Regions from separate parts of the Homo sapiens genome. Here regions 1, 2, 4 and 5 are each linked to region 3. Evidence: promoter capture Hi-C in 16 types of primary human blood cells and fetal thymus (Javierre and others, 2016). All regions are on one chromosome and are shown on one strand. The core of a region is centred on a gene start or on the middle of the fragment in contact, and the rest is flanking DNA. Distances in the headings are between cores, read along the strand shown. Region 1 has its middle 58 kb from the start of SYBU. Region 2 overlaps LOC101927413 (a long non-coding RNA gene). Region 3 holds the start of PKHD1L1 (PKHD1 like 1). Region 4 has its middle 10 kb from the start of SYBU. Region 5 has its middle 28 kb from the start of SYBU.

Region 1 (2,700 bases), core at 64-2,563, 340 kb after region 3:
AGAGTAGGAGTTATATGGTGACATGACAGGGAGAAAGGTGTCCTAGATAGAGGATATAGCACCATGTACAAAGGCAGAGCGGCAGGCATAGGACCCCATGATACATTTGGAGGGCTGCAGGTAGTTTGGTATGGGAATTTTAACTATGGAAGATGGTTTTGCAGTTTAGTTCTTCTATCGGTGCTGTAACTTCTTTGTCTATTTTCCTCTGGGGCCTACTCAATTATTCTTTTTCTCTATTCTGTCTCTCTTACTGGCTTTTTTACCTTAGTGGCTAAACATACTCAAGAGTTTCCTATATTTTAAACTACTATTTTCATTTCTACTATCATTACTACCATCACCACCACTACCACCATCACCTCCGCCTTTACTATTTCCATTACCTTTGGCTTAACTGTCATCACTTTGACCACCTTCATCATCATTTAAACCATCACCACCCCGTGACCACTGTACCTCCACCACCTCCACCATGTTCATTCCCACTACCTTTATCACCTCCAAGACCACCACTGCTGCTACCATCTCCACCTATATCACCTCCACTATCACCTCCAACATCAACTCTGCTATCTACTTCACCAGCTTTACCACAATCACCACCATTGCCATATCCATAACCTTCCTTTAGTTCTCCATTCCTCTCATCAGTCATGACATCACCTTGTTTCACAACAACCTTCTTGAAAGAGTAGTATCACGTTGCCTTTCCTCTTTTGTTACCCTTATTTGTTGCTTAGCCAATTAAAAACTGGTTTCTATTCTTATCACTCAGTTGAAAGTATTTAAAATAAATTCACTACTTTCTGTGATCACAACATTGCCACATTCGGTGAACACTTTCGGCCCTTAACTCACTTAATCTCATTGCAGCCTTTGGTTCTGCTTTCTACTTCTTTCTTAAAAATATTTTTTTCCTTTGGTTTTGTAATAATAAAACTTCTGGTTACCTTCTAATTTTCTATCCTCTCCTTTTTCAGTCTTTTCTAAGGGCAAATCACCATCCACTTATTCCTTAAATGTGGTTTTCCCTGGCTGTCTGCTATTCTTGCAGTCTTTAGGTGACTGCAAATGTAACCTCTCACACTCATTTCCTACATCCAGTGAATAAGAGCAAGGCAATTTGATGCAAATGAATAAAAAGACTTGGGTAAAGAGGTGAAAGTTTGGCAAAGCTGCTGAGGGAAGTAAGAAAAGGAGCTGACTAAGGCATTCTGGTCAGGGCATGGAGCCTAGGCCAGCTGAGGCTGCATATCGTAAATGTGTGGTGTTTTGAAACCACTCAGTTGTAGATTTTTTTCCAGCATCCTAAGAGTATGAAAGAAATTAAATATGTGGAAATGTGGCTAGAAAAAGGGATAGAATATTTAAATGTTTTTCCTTACAATCTTCACTATGACTATTCCCTTAACCAGGAATCATATAATCAAATAGTTAGAGGGCATGGTTATTAAAAGATAGTCATCCCTAACTATTTTGTAGTGAAAGCAAAATACTGTTCCTGTTGAGTGTGGTAATTCTTTATTTTACTCATCCATGATTTTAAAAGATTTATAGGTTTTACTTGTATTGTTTTAAATTAATGTGGTATAGAGTTAGATTTGTCTAAATCCCTTAATGTCATCTTCGTAGACTTTCTTGAGATGATTTATCAAAAACAACTCCTGCAACAGACAAAATAAATTTGATGTAAATATTTGGAGTTACATCTGCCCGATCAGTAAGAGGTCTCCTATATTTTTAGGATTGGGTCTAAACCAGTTTATTTTTAACCAGAATCTTTGATCATATATGGGCAAACATGAGGCTGAATTCATATGGGTTATTTGGCATTCTACGTCATCTTGCATTTTCTGCTGCAGATTCTTGGATGCAGCACTTGAAATTATTTGAAGTCAGAGAAATTTATATTTTGAATAAAATCCAGACATTTTAACATGGATTTTCATTAGTTTTCTTGTCTATCTCACCAGGCTCAACGTTCCACTCTTTCTAACCTCACAATATACACTCCAGCCATATTGAATTACTTCCAAATTCTCAGCCATGCCACATCTTCTCTCACAAAACGGTGAGAGAACTCTTATGAATTCTTCAAGACGTCCTCTTCTTTAGGAAGTCTTCCTTGACACCCTGATGTTAACTGTATCATAGGACTTAGTGCATCATATTGCAGTAATTCTATCTTTGCCACCTCTGCTAGACAATAAGATTTTTGGGGACTTTGTTTTTATCCTGGTATACCCACTGTCTAGCACAAGGCTTGACAATCAAAGATATTCAAACATTGTTATTCGGTTGAGTGAATCAACGAGTGGATGAAATTACTCTCCAAGTTTCATTATTCTTTTAAAATCATATTATCTGACATATTTTTCAGTCATGTTTCAGTTTCCGTAGTCCCTGTTGATGATCTGAAACAGGAGCTTCCAAAGAGAGAGTGGATAACTTCCCCTACACTTTTCATATGCAGTTTTCTCTGCCGTGAATGGCCTTGTCTGCCTTCACCAACAGTTCTAGTATTGCTTCTTGGAAATCTTTCTGATTTCTATTATACCTTTTTAATAATATTTTTAAATAATATACTTATCCCACACATATTCATGCATTTGTATGCCACTCACTTCCAGTGACTGTGAGCTTTTCTGAAGCAGGACCCCTCAGTTTTTGTATTCCTGTACTAAGCACAGTGCATGG
Region 2 (2,700 bases), core at 41-2,540, 460 kb before region 3:
TGAAGATCGTTGAAGTCTTGAAACAAAATTACTACCAACTCAGAAATTCTATACCGAGTAAAATATCCTTCACAATTAAAGGCAAAATAAAAAACCTTTCGAAAGAAACAAAAACTAACAGCATTTATCCCAGAAGACCTATGCTAAAAGAATTATTAAAATGAATTATTCACATGGCAGGTATGTAATTCCACATGGAAGCACAGATATGTAGGAGGAAATGAGAAATGATGTAAAGAGTGGGCACAAGAGTAAATTTAAATGAATATTGACTATAGAAACAATTGTAATATGTTAGTCATTTTAAAATACTTGTTTAGTTAACGCATGAAAACAATTCTAAAATGATGAGAAGATGGTAAATGGAGTTAAGTGTTCCATGGGAACCATGGAACCTCTCATATATATGGGGGTTTAAAAATTCAAGGATGCATATTGTAGTCTCCATGGCAACCATCAAAATAATAGTAAAATATTACATGGCTAACAAGCTTATAGACAAGAAAAACCTAATAAGAATACTAATCAGAAAAACATAACTAACAAGCTAATAAATAGGAAATACAATAATAGAAATATTTAATCATAAAATAGCAAGAAGAGCAAAGGCATGGTAAAATAGATGAGATAGATAATTAATACAGATAACTAACATAGATTTAAAAGCAACTATGTCTATTAATTTAAACAGGCTAAATTTTTCAATTAAAAGACAAAGATTAATTGATTGGGTTAAAATTTTTTAAAAATAGATACACCAGAAATAGAAGAACAAGAAGAAAATATATATACCATATTTTAAATTTTTAATTTGTGTTTATTTATATTGCCCTGCATGCACACACAAGGTTTCTAAAACAGAGATCTCTAGAGTTCTCTCACTATCTAGCCAATCATATAACCTTCCAAACTTGTTTCACTTCAGGTCCCAAGTTTGAGTAAGATTTGCTAAGAAAATCTTAACTACCCAGAATCATAAAAGAAAGTTTCTCTGCAACACTAACCAAAAGAAAGGCAGAGGTCGGGCACAGTGGTTCACACCTATAATCCCAGCACTTTGGGAGGCTGAGGCAGGCGGATCACCCGAGGTCAGGAGTTTGAGATCAGCCTGGCCAACATGGTGAAACCCTGTCTCTACTAAAAATACAAAAATTAGCCAGGTGTAGTGGCGCACACCTGTAACCCCAGCTATTCCAGAGGCTGAGACAGGAGAATTACTTGAACCCAGGAGGCAGAGGTTGCAGTGAGCCGAGATTGTGCCACTGCACTCCAGCCTGGGCAACAGAGCGAGACTCTGTTTCAAAAAAAAGCAGATAGCTGTTCTAAAGCATACAAATAGCATACAAAAAAGCACACTAATGGGCTTTCAGAAAAACAGCATGTTACAGTTAAAGAGGAAATTTTCATAAAGAGAAAGGTATCAAATTCACATGGAAAATATAACGATGAGCCAATAACATAAGTTTAAGATATATAATTCAAAAACTATCAGGACAGGTGTACATCATTTCTCAAATCCTATTGGTAAGAATTTAGTCACACACTCCAAAGGAAAATATGGAGAATTGTCTGGATGTTTGGCAAGCAATATTGTCTCTTCCATGCCTGCCTTCTGAAACTTGCTCCAATTCATCCTTTACATTTCCAGAGTAATTGAAATGTAAATATCATTTTATTACTCTAAAAATATTATCTGGTTTCCCCCAGTGGAATACAATCCAGATTCCTTAGTCTGTCATTTAAGGCCTTTCACATCCTGGACCCAAAGCCTTTTCAGTTTCAACTTCTGCTTCCTCCCCTGGTCACCTAGAAAATGACTTGTTCAGATTTTCTTGTTCATAATGTTTGTTTGTTTGTTTGTTTTTAACCTACAATGTCCTCCTTTGCCTTTCTGCATGTTGAAATCTTGTATTTCTTTGCAAAACTGAAATGTTTTCTGCATAGTCTTTCTAATCCCCTTTATCAAGATTAATTGTTCTCACTCCTGGAAACTCACAAGCACTTTGTTTATATTTCAAATGTAGCATTTATTCTAGTCTGACTTGTATAATCATCTCAGCCACCTCTCCATTATGCTACACTGTTCAAAGAAAGCTTTGTGACATATTTCTACCTTTCACTGGAAAAACATCAGCTAAGAAGAATTTATTGCTCAGGACAACTTATTAAGCCAAGAATCACAGAAGTAAGGGAGAGAAACAATCAAGACTCTAGTAGTCTTGGAGGCATAAGCTAGATAAGTAAGGAAGTATAGTTACGGCGAAAGGAGTCTGATAACACCAAAATTATAAACTACTGGGGGAATGTGTAGATTTAGACTCTATCTAAGACACTATTGGTAACCCATTTGACTTCCTGCAGTGTATAGGGAACAGTATACATAAATTCTCCTTGCATTCACAGTCACATAGATTCTATTATTATATCAAGCCCCAAAATAGAAACCAAATCAAATACTGACTGGTATATCATTAATAAGAAAAGAAACTAGGCTTTGAAATGAGATACAGTTGTAAAACTTGTCTCAAGAAGTGGTAATTCTAGAAGAAAAAAAGAGAATGAGTGCTACTCAGGTAAAGTTTCCTCAAGACATCTATCACCATTAAAAATATTTATTAAGTGCCTACTTGTGAGTTATGAACTGATGGCTCTTATACAGGCATTTAATAAAGAAGATGTGCATTTAATTTGGAATCACAG
Region 3 (2,700 bases), core at 46-2,545:
ATTCCATCACTTGAAAACACTCTTTGACTAAAGTATGATACCACTATTATACCTAATAAAATGAACGCTTCTATAATATCTTTCAATACTTGTTACTTAATCCATATTCACTTTCCCTAATTTGTTCTGCAAACGTCCTTCATAGCTTTATATTATTATTATTATTTTTTACAAACCAGGATCCAATAGAAGCTTATGCATTGCTATTTGGGTAATAATCTTTTAATATCTTTTAAAAACACATAACATTTTAAAATGTAGAAACTGCAAACTAGGTAGGTGGATCTTCTCATCTTTTTTTGTTGTTTGTTTTTGAGACGGAGTCTCACTATGTCGCCCAGGTTGGAGTGCAGGGGTGTGATCTCAGCTCACTGCAACCTCCGCCTCCCGGCTTCAAGCAATTCTCCTGCCTCAGCATCCCAAGTAGCTAGGATTACAAGGCATGCGCCACCCCACCAGGCTAATTTTTGTATTTTTAGTAGAGATGGTGTTTCACCATGTCAGCCAGTCTGGTCTCGAACTCTTGACCTCAAGCGATCCGCCCACCTCGGCCTCCCAAAGTGGTGGAATTACAGGCGTGAGCCGCTGTGCCCAGCCCCTTCTCACCTTTTAAAGAGTAGGGAGAGGTGGGCAATCAAGAGATCCTGAGGTTAAGATATTAAGAACAGTGAGAGGATTTGGAATTAGCCCCTGGGGAGCATTCAGTGGTGAATAATAAACTGCCTTCTCCAGGGAGGTCAGAGAAACTTGCGTTTCATTCGTCTGCTATCTGGCATCCCAGAAACAGGTCAGCAGTGCTGGACCTCCCTCCATGCCAACAGTAAGCCTTCGCCCTAAGTCTACTGATTGTCAATTAAAGAGAGAGCACAATCTCATATGAATGTGAAGGGGTAAACACGCGTGGGGTTTGTGTATTAGGTGGTCTTATAGGCCCACCTGGGGAGGATTAATGACCAAGGCAGACAGGCAGATGAAAGTACGCGGGGAAAGAGAGAAAAGAAAAGAAAAGAAAAAAAACAAAAAGAAAATAGAGAAGGAGACCTAGGGAGACCTCAATGACCATTGATTCCTTTCGCCAAAAGGAGTAAGGCCCTTCCACCTATGGGGACAGCCTTGGGAAGGCAGCACCCAGGTTTGAGTGTGGAGGTTTGATTATCACGGACTGGCTCGGGGCCGGCTTGGTTCTCCCGCGAAGGTTCCAGGGTGTGTGTGTGTGTGTGTGTCCGCGCGCGCATGCAAATCCCAGAGGAGCAGCCCGACAGCAGGGGCGGGGCAGGCCACGGGAGGGCGGCCCAGTTCCCCAGCTCTCCCGGGACGAAGCGGGCCCGCCAGCGAGTCGCAGTCCCAGGAGCCGAGCTCCAGCACTAGAGCCAGCTGCGAGCGGAGGGCACCAACTCCGCAGAACTGGCTTTTCAATGGGACACCTGTGGCTCCTGGGTATTTGGGGCCTCTGTGGGCTGCTCCTGTGTGCCGCGGATCCCAGCACAGGTAACCCTTTGGGCACGCTAGGCAGGCAAGCAGGAGAGGCCCGCGTAGACACTACCCCTGCTCCCGGGGTCCTGGGAGAGGCAGGACCACCTGGCACCTGGCTGAGGCTGTGGGTGCGGTTGCATGACGATCCTGGGGACCAGGGGAGCTGGATAGCAGGCCTAGCAAACAGAGACAGACGCAGAGAGAGAGAAACAGAGACAAGGACACAGAGAAAGAGATTGCGAGAGATTGCCTTTTAACTCATCAATGCTGCTACTTGAATGATGAAATCTCCCACCGGCACCCACAAAGTGACACAAGTAGACTGAAATTTGGCGGGGGAGTGGGGACTGGGAAGAGGCAACCTGAGTCCCTTTTCCTCCATTCTTCTTGGGTCGCTTTCCTCACAACAGAAAGGGCAACAACCCCCAGTAGGACGGGGATGGGACTTCGTGGCAGGTGTCAGTCATTTCCAGGGGCAGCTGCCCTGTGTTTTCAAAGTAATACCCAGAAGAGGGCTGGGAAGAGACTGATAAGATAAGAAATTGGAGTTGTCTGTGGAGATAACAGGAGGATGAACCTGAGATAGGCGAGGAGCAGCACTGTCTGGAGATAGGATCCAGCTTCCCCGCTGGAGTTTCCTACTCTTGGGCTGCCCTGAGATATGAATGTGCGGGAATAAGAACACCTTGGAGCTCTTGGCAAAGACAGACCCGAGGTACAGAGGCACTGGGTCTGGGGCCTCGGAACTGGTCTCCTTTATGTTGGAGAGCTTTTGCTACTATAGGTGAAGTCCACTCTAAACCTTTTTAAGACAGAACTGAACAAGCCAATCATAATTCCCTTAGCCTTTTTATATACATCCATTTTGAGAAATTAATAATTTCTGTGGCCTTTCTTTGTATCATCCCTTAAATTTTTCTACCTACTGTGAAAATTTCTTTTAGGATTCCAGCAATTACTAGATCTGTACAGTGTAAGCAGAAAATAAACACCTCTATCCACTGTGTAGCTTTGAGTTGTTTTAAAGAATTATTTGCAATACTCCAAAGAAGCAGCTCACACAATCCTGTTTGCCCGGGCAGTTCCCTCTATCTAGAACTATCTTTATCTTTCTGACAACTGGTCCAGTCTAATTCATATTTGTCCTTAAAAATGTGGAAGGGGCATGTCTTCTTTATAGAAGCCAGTGTGACACAAGCAGCGTGGGTGAAATGCTCCTTGAGGCAC
Region 4 (2,700 bases), core at 157-2,656, 290 kb after region 3:
TCCTAGAAGTTTCCCAAAAGTCTTAACAGCACTGCCTCTCCTATGACCCGAAGCTGAGCATGGTGGGAAAACCCCACAACCCTGTGGATGAATGACACTGCATGCTCTTGCTTTTCACCTGCAGTGGGCCTCAGTGCTGCCTGGCAATCATTTTGGGCTTCTAGTGCATGTTCTCTCCTATTCTCCACAATGTCTATTTTAAATCTCCTCCATACTTCAAATCTACCAGCCTACCACCCCTGCCCTCATGTTGTACAGATGGCCATTTCTCCTGATTGACAGACAAAAATAGGAGGTATTAAGAGAACTCTCTCAATCTCCTGCCTCCAAACCTATAAATTCACCTGCCTCCACCCCATCCTTCCCATTTCTGGTTCTTTAGGATGGAAGTTGTGTTTCTTCCTATACAAGAAAAATTCGTTTACCTGAACTCTGGATCCCATTCTTTCCCATCTCTTAAGGCATATTATCCTATCAGTTAGTCTCTCATAGGATTATTGAGAGTATCAGAGGAGTTAATAACCATAAAGAACATGGAAGAGCACCCTGCACACACTAAGCACTCAATGAACGTTAGCTATTTTTTTTTATAACTTTAATCCATTTTTTTTACTGGACATTTCACATCAGCATTTAAACATGCCAAAAACTTTTCCAGTGAAATAAATGACCATCCAAAGCTCTCATATATTTCTAGTACAACCTGATTTCTTATCCCCATTCATCACCAAACGTCTGAAAAAGTTACTTGTCTAGAGTATATGTCTCACACTTCCCTGCTCCTTGAACCAATCCCTACTCCACTCATGTACTCACAGCTCTACCAAATAGCTCTTGCTCAAAGTCACAAATTCTTCCATTTGGTTTAATCTGATGGCTAGTTTTGATCTTAGTCTTGGCTTCTCATCAGCCTTTGCATAGTGAAATACTCGCACATTTTTGAAAAGCACTTTCATTTTTTCTGGAACATTGCCCTCCTGATCTTCCCCTACTTCTTGGTATCCTTTTAGCTCATTTCTTAAATGTTGCTTTTGCTCACTTTCAAGCCCTCACCCTTTTATTCTTTCATCCATCCTTCCCTCTTGGGGCAATATCTTTCTTTCCAATTGCTTCAATTGCTATTTACAGGCAGATCTTATAGAAATTATATAACTGCTTACCTCTATTCCATGATTATCCCATAGTTAATTTGGATATCTCAACTTTATATCTCACAGGGTCCACAAACTCACTACATTCCAAATTGAATTCATCATACTTCCTCTAAAAGCTGATTTTACTTCTGTGTTCCCTAAGTTGATAAACAATATCATCATGAAGACCCTGACACCTGGGTGACATTCTTAACTTTTCTGTCTCCCCTTAACCATTACAACTAATTGGAACCTAAGTCCTATCTGTTCTACTTCCTAATTATCTTTAAAATGTGTTCATTTCTCTACCACCTCTTCCTGCCTAGATTTCTAACCTGTCCCCCACACTTGTCCCGTTCAGTTCATTTTTGAACAGTGGCCACAATAGTCTCTTTAAAGTGCAGATCTGATCATTCCTTCCCCATCCTATCTCTCTAGCCTCAAATGAAATCTTTCAATGCTCACTACCAGTCTCAAGATAAACTTCATCCACTAATGCATAGCTTACAAGATCCCTCATGATTTAATCCTTGCATTCCGCCTTTGACGTTCACAAATGTTCCCTCTACCTTGAACACACCTCCCAATCTTCAACCTCCATCTCCCAGCACCGTCCAGTTCCTTTTGCCTTTCGGGTATATTCACTGGATAATTTGATTTGCCAGAGTCATGGCATTTGCTCCTGTCTTGAGTGTGAAATAGGATAAAATGATTTTCGGCTTCGAAAATACTTTTTAGGGAACTATAATGGAAAGATAAAGTTACATTAAAGCTATGATGAACATAGAAGCTGTGTTTGCTTTTGGGCTTGTAACATGAGTTGAATAGCAATTCAAAAGAATTTTTAAGTGACCAAGTGAAATAATGACTTCCAAATTGGTATAACTTGAAAGGCTTCTGCCAAAGAAAATACATACATTTCATCCTATGTATTATAAAATATTAATCTTAGCTTCATTATTTTAGTGGACTCATTTCTCTTGAGTGAGAATTCAAAGAATACTCTTTGAAAAAGTATCCCCATGATTCCTTGTTATAGTTTTTCCTCCTGCTTTCTTCTACCACTTATTGGATTTTTAGTATTAAAATAGAAAACAATTCTAAGTGAGAATTTATTTTACAAGACACTGTCATTTATATTTTTCACATATTCATATAGTTGCGTTGCTGTATTTTTCTTGTTATAACAAACTCAGGATAATGTGTAGTTTCAAATTTACATATGATCTAGACCAGGCGTGGTGGCTCACGCCTGTAATCCCAGCACTTTGGGAGGCCGAGGTGGGCAGATCATTTGAGGTCAGGAGTTTGAGACCAGCCTGGCCAACATGGGGAAACCCCATCTCTACTAAAAATATAAAAAATTAGCCAGGCGTGGTGACATGTGCCTGTAATCTCAGCTACTCCGGAGGCTGAGGCAGGAGAATCGCTTGAACCCAGGAAGCGGAGGTTGCAGTGAGATGAAATCATGCCACTGCACTCCAGACTGGACAACAGAGCGAGACTCCGTCTCAAAAAAAAAAAAAATTACACACCATCTAGGTAGACCTATTTTTAAACTTGAAAA
Region 5 (2,700 bases), core at 65-2,564, 310 kb after region 3:
ACCTTACCCTAAAATACTTTGAGCGATTAAAGCATTTGAAATGTTTCAAACTAGTTTTGTTCAATGTGTTTCAGAAATATTATTTTCTGAAATATGAAAATAAGCCAATCTCTAATTCAATTTTGGTAGGGTTCATATCATTTATTTAAATTGGATTTAGGCTTCTTGCAAGAAGGTACAACTGATTTAGGCCTATGACTTAATATGCACAAAAGATGCTATGGGTACTTTATAAATATTTAGTTATAAAAATGAGGATGGCATGTTTCTCTCTACTTGAATTAAAAATGAGTTATTAGTGTAAACCTTTTTGAAAAACTCATTTATGAAGTCAAAATGAATTTTTTTTGTTTTGTTTTTGAGATGGAGTTTCGCTCTTGTTGCCCAGGCTGGAGTGCAATGGCATGATCTCAGCTCATTGCAATCTCTGCCTCCCAGTTTCAAGCGATTCTCCTGCCTCAGCCTCCTGAGTAACTAGGATTATATGCATGTGCCACCATGCCCAGCTAATTTTGTATTTTTAGTAGAGATGGAGTTTCTCCATGTTTCTCAGACTGGTCTTGAAATCCCGACCTCAGGTGATCCACCTGGTTTGGCCTCCCGAAGTGCTGGGATTACAGGTGTGAGCCACCAAGCCCAGCCAAAATACATTATGTAATTTAAAAGCTGGGGGTGGCTGGCAAGATGACGGAATAGGAACAGCTCCGGTCTGCAGCTCCCAGCGAGATCAACACAGAAGGTGGGTGATTTCTGCATTTCCAACTGAGGTACCCAGCTCATCTCATTGGGGCTGGTTAGACAGTGGGTGCAGCCCACAGAGGGCAAGCTAAAGCAAGGTGGAGCATTGCCTCACCTGGGAAGCGCAATGGGTTGGGGAACTCCCTGCCCTAGCTAAGGGAAGCTGTGAGGGACTGTGCCATAAGGAATGGTGCATTGAGGCCCAGATACTATGCTTTTCCCATGGTCTTCACAACCCACAGACCAGGAGATTCCCTTGGAAGCCTACACCACCAGGGCTTTAGGTTTCAAGCACAAAACTAGATGGCTGTTTGGGGAGACAGCGAGCTAGCTGAAGGAGTCATTTTTTCAAACCCAGTGGCTCCTGGAATGCCAGCGAGACAGAACCGTTCCCTCCCCTGGAAAGGGGGCTGAAGCCAGGGACCCAAGTGGTCTAGCTCAGCAGATCCCACCGCCACAGAGCCCAGCAAGCTAAGATCCACTGGCTTTAAATTCTCGCTGCCAGCACAGCAGTCTGAAGTCAACCTAGGATGCTGGAGCTTGGTGGGGGGAGGGGCATCTGCCATTACTGAGGCTTGAGTAGGTGATTTTCCCCACACAGTGTAAACAAAGCCACTGGGAAGTTTGGACTGGGTGGAGCCCACCACAGCACCACAAAGCTGTTGTAGCCAGACTGCCTCTTTGGGTTCCTCCTCTCTGGACAGGGCATCTCTGAAAGAAAAGCAGCAGCCCCACTCAGGGGCTTATATATAAAATGCCCAACTCTCTCGGACAGAGCACCTGGGGGAAGGGGCGGCTGTGGACACAGCTTCAGCAGACTTAAACGTTCCTGCCTGCTGGCTCTGAAGAGAGCAATGGATCTCCCAGCACAGCACTCGAGCTCTGCTAAGGGACAGACTGCCTCCTCAAGTGAGTTCCTGACCCCCGTGCCTCCTGACTGGGAGACACCTCCCAGCAAGTGTGAACAGACACCTCATACAGGTGAGCTCCGGCTGGCATTTGGCGGGTGCCCCTCTGGGATGAAGCTCCCAGGGGAAGGAACAGGCAGCAATCTTTGCTGTTCTGCAGCCTCCGCTGGTGATACCCAGGCAAACAGAGTCTGGAGTGGACCTCCAGCCAACTCCGGCAGACCTGCAACAGAGGGGCCTGACTGTTAGAAGGAAAACTAACAAGCAGAAAGAAATAGCATCAACATCAACATAAAGAACATCCACACAAAAACACCATACAAGAATCACCAGCATCAAAGACCAAAGGTAGATAAATCTACCAAGATGAGGAAAAAGTGCAAAAAGGCTGAAAATTCCAAAAACCAGATTGCCTTTTCTTCTCCAAAGGATCACAACTCCTCGCCAGCAAGGGAACAAAACCGAACAGGGAATATATTTGACGAATTGACAGAAATAGGCTTCAGAAGGTGGGTAATGAGAAACTCCTCCGAGCTAAAGGAGCATGTTCTAACCCAATGCAAGGAAGCTAAGAACCTTGAAAAAACGTTAGAGGAATTGCTAACTAGAATAACCAGTTTAGAGAAGAACATGAAAGACCTGATGGAGCTGAAAAACACATCACAAGAACTTTGTGAAGCATACACAAGTATCAATAGCCAAATTGATATAGCAGAAGATATATCAGAGATTGAAGATCAACTTAATGAAATAAAGCATGAAGACAAGATTAGAGAAAAAAGAATGAAAAGGAACAAACAAAGCCTCCAAGAAATATGGGACTATGTGAAAAGATCAAACCTACTTTTGATTGGTGTACCTGAAACTGATGGGGATAATGGAACCAAGTTGGAAAACACTCTTCAGGATATTATCCAGGAGAACTTCCCCAACCTAGCAAGACAGGCAAACATTCAAATTCAGGAAATACAGAGAACACCACAAAGATACTCCTCGAGAAGAGCAACCCCAAGACACATAATCATCAGATTCACCAAGGTTGAAATGAAAAAAA

What was found. Contacts are between HindIII fragments. The CHiCAGO score rates a contact against its expected background, and 5 or more counts as called.
Region 1: a contact is called between a fragment that was not itself captured here and the fragment with the promoter of PKHD1L1 in region 3, in 1 of 17 cell types (total B cells). The highest score is 6.9, in total B cells.
Region 2: a contact is called between a fragment that was not itself captured here and the fragment with the promoter of PKHD1L1 in region 3, in 1 of 17 cell types (total B cells). The highest score is 6.6, in total B cells.
Region 4: a fragment that was not itself captured here is called in contact with the fragment with the promoter of PKHD1L1 in region 3 in 2 of 17 cell types (total B cells and naive B cells); the score reaches 6.0 in total B cells.
Region 5: a fragment that was not itself captured here is called in contact with the fragment with the promoter of PKHD1L1 in region 3 in 1 of 17 cell types (total B cells); the score reaches 5.6 in total B cells.

Annotation. Positions count from the first base shown.
Region 1 is chr8:109,701,913-109,704,612 of GRCh38, forward strand. No RefSeq gene overlaps it. Among named protein-coding and RNA genes, the nearest start is that of SYBU, 58 kb to the left of the region's middle. The HindIII fragment of the contact is 4,683 bases long and covers 1-2,700 here.
Region 2 is chr8:108,901,986-108,904,685 of GRCh38, forward strand. All of the region lies in intron 3 of LOC101927413 (a long non-coding RNA gene), which reads right to left. Among named protein-coding and RNA genes, the nearest start is that of TMEM74, 120 kb to the left of the region's middle. The HindIII fragment of the contact is 1,603 bases long and covers 490-2,092 here.
Region 3 is chr8:109,361,166-109,363,865 of GRCh38, forward strand. PKHD1L1 (PKHD1 like 1) reads left to right here and starts at 1,296. Exons shown (of 78, transcript NM_177531.6): 1 at 1,296-1,488. The coding sequence starts at 1,416. The HindIII fragment of the contact is 8,587 bases long and covers 191-2,700 here.
Region 4 is chr8:109,653,470-109,656,169 of GRCh38, forward strand. It overlaps a transcript of SYBU not described here. Among named protein-coding and RNA genes, the nearest start is that of SYBU, 10 kb to the left of the region's middle. The HindIII fragment of the contact is 7,372 bases long and covers 1-2,700 here.
Region 5 is chr8:109,671,559-109,674,258 of GRCh38, forward strand. It overlaps a transcript of SYBU not described here. Among named protein-coding and RNA genes, the nearest start is that of SYBU, 28 kb to the left of the region's middle. The HindIII fragment of the contact is 3,125 bases long and covers 1-2,700 here.